Regions from separate parts of the Homo sapiens genome. Here region 2 is linked to region 1. The links are contacts of gene promoters, found by promoter capture Hi-C in blood cells and fetal thymus (Javierre and others, 2016). All regions are on one chromosome and are shown on one strand. Each heading gives the region's core, a stretch centred on a gene start or on the middle of the fragment in contact. The rest is flanking DNA. Distances are from core to core; before and after follow the strand shown.

Region 1 (3,969 bases), core at 291-2,790:
TCTTTTTTCTTCTTCTTAATTCTGTTACATAAATTTATTAGGAGCTCACCAATATCCTTCCTTTTCAGTCTTCCAGCAAACATAAATGTAGGTGAGAAAAAAAGAATGAGTTAATTCTTTTTTTTCTTATGCTGAATTTTAATATCTTTTAAAACCAATAAATATTTGTCCCCACATTTTTCATCTAAGAAAGTACATAGGTTAAAGGACTGGAGTGAATTCTTTTCATGCAAATTTCTGTGATGGTAGACATATAGATTGCTGGGAAAAGTCGGCCACTACTGCTCACTGTTTATGTGAAAGTTCCCAAAACCCCACCTTGAATCACAGCAGAAAGTCTGAATTGTACACTGAGAGGATTAAAAACTTGTTCTGGCCATATAAACAGATCTGTCCATATATACTATTTTCTTCATTAAAGTGTTTTTCTGAATTTAATTTAAATTGCCTCCTTTAATATAAAAATTTCCCTGAACCCAAGAGTACATGTCAACTCCCCATGTGAGCCCATCTTCTTTGTACCTCTAACCTGGAGCAACTGAGTTTTGACCTCAGCACAGTCCCATTGTCAACATCAGGGAACACTGGACTGTTAGCTGTGGCTGGACTCAGACAAAAAATTCTCCAAAAAATACTTTTGTATTGTTCTTTCCCCCCAACCCCTGTGATAGGATTCCATTGAATGTTACACGTGATGTTATTTCCACTTAATCTTTTCTACTATAGTTTTCTCAAATTTCATATTATTCCATGTTTTATTTGTTATACTCTAAAGTCATTCATTTATTTTACCTGTGTTATTGCACTTTAAATTCACTCATTTAAGTACAGATGTTATTAGGATTCACTTTGGAAATTAAAGCATATAACATTCACAACATAAGTGAAAATAGCCTCTATGGAAAATCTCAGTTTCATAAAATAAAATATATAATCTATAACCTTCAAACAAATGAAAGTTAATTTTTCCAACAAAATCTACATGCCATATTCTAAGCAGGAATTACCTCCACCTTATGTTTTTTATTTTTATCCTCACTATTTCCTAATTATATTTTGTAACACCAGCCAAAATCTGTACTTAATACCCAGATTCTTCTTGAATATCTTCATAGAACACTATAAAGACAAATAAATATATAAGTATATATTTATATCTATAAATATATTTCTGCTAATAAACGTATGAAATAGATTTCTGTTAATAAACATGAAAACTTTAAGTAATCACATTATAGTAAACAAAATGTCTCAGAGATTTTCACTGTTTTAATAATCACGCAGTGCATTTCTTACATCCTAATTTTAAATTTTAAACAGTAAAAGAAAATACCTTACCCCAAAAGTTTTCTGGCCATGGACTCCCTAAACTTGTTGTGTTATTAGCCATAATATCCACAAGAAATAGAAGAAAGAGAAGAAAAACAGAAAGAAAAACCAGTATGTCGAAAAAAAGCAGTTTGATTCTATCTCTTTGTAGTACAGCAAGAGAAAAATAATTTTTACACAACCCCTCATATACTTGTGTTCGCATAAAAGGAAATAAGTGTATCATGTTTCCTGCTTTTATACTCAAATTAGCAACTGTTTTTCTTATCTTGGAATTCCACATGGTTCCTGAGACACAAAACAATGTCCTTTTCATCATTTCCTCAGCTAAGTTCCTAAGTTCTCTCCTCTCAGCCACCTCCAAAACTGCTTTTAGGATAACAGGGTTGTGTGTGTGTGTGTGTGTTTGTGTGTGTGTGTGTGTGTGTTTCCTCATCCCCTACTGACATGGAAAGGAAGACTCCAAACTCTCAGCTACAGCACCTTGAATTAAATGTATACAGAATTGAGAAATAGACCACGTTCCAATGCTTGAAAATTAAATTTATATAGTAAATTGGGGGAAAGGACTATTCAAAACTCAGATACTTACTAAATTCTTTGTTGTTGTTGTTGTTGTTGTTTTTGAGACTTAGTCTCGCTCTGTCGCCCAGGCTGGAGTGCAGTGGTACGATCTCGGCTCACTGCAACCTGCCCCTCCCAGGTTCAAGCGATTCTCCTGCCTCAGCCTCCAGAGTAGCTGGGATTACAGGCGCGTGCCACCACACCCGGCTAATTTTTGTATTTTTACTAGAGATGGAGTTCCACCATGTTGGCCAGGCTGGTCATGAACTAGGCCTGACCTCAAGTGATCCACCTGCTTTGGCCTCCCAAAGTGCTGGGATTACAGCCATGCGCCACTGCGCTCGGCCACTATATTCTTAACATGTCTGTTTCTCTATTTGGTATACAAATTTTGAAAGTTATTTAATTCATTTCATAAATATCTAAGTGTAATTTATATAAAATTTGTGTTACTCTTTACTTAGTATTTAGTATGAAAAAACAGTTTCTACATTGAAGAAATATATTTAAAATCAAGGAGGGAAAACATAAATGCAAAATTTTTCATTACAAAGTTTGTTAAGTGCTATAACAAAGGGTACAACGATCTCAGGAATTTGTTTTTTATAGAGAAGTTTGAGAACTGATATAGGAAAGAGTTACATGAAACATTTTGAGAAACACAAGTTAGTTAACATTTCAAGAGTCTTTCCTCAAGCTTTGCTTGTTTAGACTGGATCCTCTGAGGACTTTGGAGGCACTGGAAATTGTGAATAACGTGTCAAACTGCACCTAGTAACTGCGCTAAACTGCATTCCATGATCTGGCTTCATCAATCTTTGAGTAACTCTAGCCTGAACTCTTGCATATATCTTGTATTAATCATATTCTAACTTATTAGTCATTAGAATATGACTTAGTGCAAAGTAGTATTCCTCTTTGTGAAGTCTGTAATATATTCCTGAGTAGTTCTAAGAAAACAACAAAAAAAGACAGTTATATTAATTTTTGCAGTCCTGCTTCTTCCAAAATGAGGTTGTTTCTGATCAGTCTCATTTTTTTGTGAATTTAAGTATAAATTTATTAGAAATTAAAATATAAATCATCTAAGAGAATTATAAAACGTCATAGAAAATTTAGAGAATTCACTGAGCAAATATAAAGACTCACCTCTATAATATTCTTGCTAAAGTTTATTTTCAAATAATCCAGTAAATAAAAGCTCCTACTATTACTTAACAGACAAAAAGGGCTTACATTTCAACAGTTGTCTTTACTTTTCAATATTGTTAACAAAGTTCATAAAAATAGAAAATTAAAAGAACATGTTATTTCTGAAGAAAATGTAATCTGGATGAAAGTATATTGAAATACTAATCACTTTACTGTTCTAAAAGCATCGAGTACGATTCTTAATTACTAAATGTATTTTTAAATACACATTTTGCATTATTAAAGGTTACCTGATTGCAATAAATCCTAATTTCAAAGGTGTATATAATTTCCTAAACACTGCATAGATTGCATTTTCCTTAAAATAAACCAAAATGAGTGGAATGGGTAACTGACATTGTCTCAACTGCCTTCTGTGCAGAAACAGAGCTCATTCCATTTCAGGGCTGGGATACAGGCTGACACTTCCTTTCATTGTTCTATGTTGAACTATGCAGATTTTCTCCCAATGGGTTTTCATTTTTGCAGATGGCCACAACCCAGTCAAAACTCTAAAGAAAATGTGTTTCTTAAATCAGTTTATGACCTAGGAATAGCTTGCTTGTGGACAGCACTGGCTCTTGTCTGTGTATGTAATTTGCTTGGTAAGGGTTCATACCTTTCCCTGGCATGGATCTATCTAAGTGAATGTTTATGTCTACGTGATTTTTGAGTCCCATGACTTGTCATGCCACAACAGGAACTTGATTTTTATCTTTACAAAACTGTTAGGTTTGCTTTTCTACTGCTCATTATTTCATAACCTGGGTCTTTAGGTCTGGGTTCTCCAGTGGTCATAAAGTACATTGAGAAGTTTGTTCTTGCCTCAGATATTCACATGACTTCCTCACTCTCCTCATTCACGTCTCTGGCCAGAAGTCACTC
Region 2 (3,658 bases), core at 651-3,150, 210 kb after region 1:
TCATTTCATCTTTACATTCTGTAATCAGCATTTTAAATCTCTTTCAATCTGTAGCAAATGCTGCATTTTCCAGTTTTTTCACTCAGAATCCTGTGGAATAAAATTTAAAAGTTGATTTGATGTTTTGTTTTTTTTTAAATTTATTTTTTTGTTGTTTTTTTTAATATTTTTTTTAGTCAGAGTGTCACTCTGTCGCCAAGCTGGAGTGTAGTGGCATGATCGTGATCTCAGCTCACTGCAACCTCCGCCTCCCAGGCTCAAGCGATTCTCCTGCCTCAGCCTCCTGAGTAGCTGGGACTACAGGCATGCGCCACTATGCTCAGCTAATTTTTGTATTTTTAATGGCGACGGGCTTTCACCATGTTGGCCAGGATGATCTCAATCTCTTGACCTCATGATCCGCCCGCCTCGATCTCCAAAAGTGCTGGGGTTACAGGTGTGAGCCACCGTGCCCAGCCTATGTTTTGGTATTTTTAAAATTCCATTCAGTTAGAGAAAATGAAAGAAAACCTTGTAGATAAAATTCTAGTTCACTATCTCCCCCCAGTGTTCTTCACGTGAATTTACATGTTTGTTTATAATTTTGAAATTCTTTTAGTTGTGTTATCTGCTAACTTTTGTGGGGCCATTCTCCTGTAACATAATTGCACATTTTAATTATCTTTTCATTTTATGTTTAGATTTGGAGTCATATTTTAGGATGGGTTAATTTAGTTAATGTAAAATATAAAACTTTAAAAATTGTTTTAATGTTAGCATTAAGCTTATAGTTAAGTCTACATATAATACATTGATGTCAACTGTACTGTGATATACTTAATATTTTAATACCATGAAATTAAAGCAAAGGATTATCATGTAAACATGGTCCCCTAAAGTAAACCTCTTTATGCAGGCTTACTTAAACACAAATCTAGACAGCTTTAATTCTGCATTATTTTGATATATGCAATTTCTATTTGTAAATTGTTTGGTACTTGAAGTAAAGCAACTATCTTGATTATTAGCTAAGATTTATACTCCTGTTTACTATGATTTCCTGACAAACATATACTGGTACACAAATTACTTTACTAGAAATGAGAAATCCTAGGCTTTAGTCCTACCTCTACTACTTGTCCTTGATAAGTCATTTCTGGGCTTCAGAATAATAATGCATGTGTAGGGTGATGGAGAGAACCAGAGAGGATAATATGAAGAAAGCACTTAGCACAGGGTCAAGCTATGTCAGGGCTTGATGAATGACAGCTGCTATTAGTATCATAACTACCGTTATTATTATCAACAACATATATTGAGTGTTATCCAAATAGAAAAGATTGTTATTTAGGAAATGTGCTTTCCTTTGCTTTTGCTTTTTTTGACTCATTGCCATACTGTTGCTGTTTTTCCTCTTTTAGTCATTTAAGCACTTCAGAGTTCAATATGAAATGAAGAGGAAACAGATTGAACATTTAATACAACCATTACACAGAGACGGTAAATTGTCACTTGACCAAGCATTGGTAAAACAATCTTGGGATAGAGTGACCTCCAGGGTAAGTTCTCCCACAATTAGTTATACTGAGCTTAATAAATTTAGAAAAGAATATTTTTCATCATCTATTTCTACACAGTGGTATGGCAACAGGTTCTACTGCCTCTGTCTGAGGCTAGAAAGACTTAACTATGGGAGAATCTTTGCCTCCTTGTCTAGTTTTCCTGTAAGTTAATGGAAGTCTTTGGTTTAACAGCTATTTTCTTGCCTTGGCTTCCCTCTATGTGATATCAGCAATTAACTAGATGATAGATTAAAGTCCTGAGACCATCTGGATCACTTCACACTTTACACAACTTCCTTCTGGGTGGTTTAGAAGAGGTGACTCTCTGGTCTTGTAGCAGATTCTCCAGAGTAGAGCCACAGCAACTTCTTGTATTCTAAAATCATGTTTCATCAACAGTTAATGACCTTCCTGTGTTGACATACAGTTTTGCATTCTTTAATTCAAGCATCTTTTTTTATCTGATCATGAATCTGAAGGAAAATTGCTCAGTATCTTTCATATTCATATTCTTCATGCTTAAAGGCCAAGATTTCAAACCCCTGGAACACTTCTATCACTAATAAGAATATTTGTCTTGAACTTACCATATATTCTTTACTTTATTTTATTTTGTTTTTGAGATAGTGTCTTGCTCTGTCACCCAGGCTAAAGTGCAGTGGCACAATCACAGCTCACTGCAGCTTCAACCTCCTTGGCTCAAGCAATCATCCTACCTCAGCCTCCCAAGTAGCTGGGACCACAGGCATGTACCACCATACTTGGCTAATTTTTTTTTTTTTTTTTTTTTTTTGTAGAGATGAGATCTCACTATATTGCCCAGGGTGGTTTTAAACTCCTGGGCTCAAGCATCTCATCCATCTTGGCTTCCCAAATTTCTGGGATTACTGGAGTGAGCCACTGCACCCAGCCTAATTTTTTTTTTGATAGTCTCATTTTTTCTAGTGACTCCATTAAAGAATAGGCTAGTTCCTAAGCACCTCAACTCATCCCACCTGGCTTTCCAGTAAGCTAGGAAATGTGTCTGAGAATTGGGTAAAATGGAAGAGATGGAGAGAAGGGTAGACAATCATAGGATTATAGAAAGAATCCTTTAAACCCATCTTTGTCCAGAGCTGCTTAGATAATCCTCATTTTTCTGAACTTGTTCTGATCACGTGGGAGGTTTTAATGGGATTCTCATTCCGACGACCAAGATACACATGTGCCAGGTGTATAACTGCTGCATCCTCCAAGCATGTCACCAAACCTGATCCCTTCCCTTTCAGCAAAAGCCACACTGAAAATCAGTGGGTGCTTCATGCTACTCCTGTAAGAGGAAAATTGCTTACACTTCTGATAATATTCTTCCATGTTTAAGATGTATTTTCAGTTTCTTCAAAATTTGCTTTTAACTGTAATTTTCTCCCCATCCCTAAAGTGTCAAACTCAGAACACAGACATTTGCTTATTTGATATTTATTAACTTAGCCTGAAATCATTAACTTAAAGCTTTATGTATGCTTTACTATTATTTGGGTGCAATTTTATAAATTGCCATCTGTATTAAAGATATTTTACTTTTCTGCTTTTTAAATTTTAGCTCTTTGACTGGCATATACAGCTTGATAAATCTCTTCCTGCACCTCTGGGCACCATAGGTGCCTGGCTGTACAGAGCGGAGGTGGCCCTGAGAGAGGAAATAACCGTTCAACAGGTCCACGAGGAAACAGCAAACACGATACAACGGAAACTTGAGCAACATAAGGTAAAAATTCTGGTTGGAAAACCTTGCAGCATAACAGCCCTACTGTGGTCTGGAGAGGTAGCCTAGTTACAACCTGCTCTGGCGGGGACGCCCCAAATATTAATTCTACATGATCGGAGACGTCACACCTTCTTAGAGTTCTCTAATTTGATTGTTTCTTTCTTACACTGGTTAATGACGGTTCCAGTGGGTTGACTTCCTGAGATATTTTCCATACCTGTGTGGTATTTTTTTCATCTGCAGCTATCTTTGTTATTTCTGTTGTTATATATTATTTTTCAAAAGATAAGCATAGATGGTATGCATTTACATAATAATGTGGCCGGCCATTGGCTCCAGACCTCATTTCTGCCTCCATTCTCAAAGGAAG

Evidence for each region. The method cuts DNA at HindIII sites, captures the fragments that hold promoters and counts their contacts. A CHiCAGO score of 5 or more calls a contact.
Region 2: a fragment that was not itself captured here is called in contact with the fragment with the promoter of MYCT1 in region 1 in 1 of 17 cell types (endothelial precursors); the score reaches 7.3 in endothelial precursors.

The regions. Positions count from the first base shown.
Region 1 is chr6:152,695,468-152,699,436 of GRCh38, reverse strand. It overlaps MYCT1 (MYC target 1), which reads right to left and starts at 1,540. Exons shown (of 2, transcript NM_025107.3): 1 at 1,339-1,540. The coding sequence starts at 1,534. The HindIII fragment of the contact is 10,649 bases long and covers 1-2,592 here.
Region 2 is chr6:152,482,715-152,486,372 of GRCh38, reverse strand. It overlaps SYNE1 (spectrin repeat containing nuclear envelope protein 1), which reads left to right. Exons shown (of 146, transcript NM_182961.4): 13 at 1,401-1,538; 14 at 3,124-3,288. Among named protein-coding and RNA genes, the nearest start is that of SYNE1-AS2, 82 kb to the right of the region's middle. The HindIII fragment of the contact is 2,269 bases long and covers 766-3,034 here.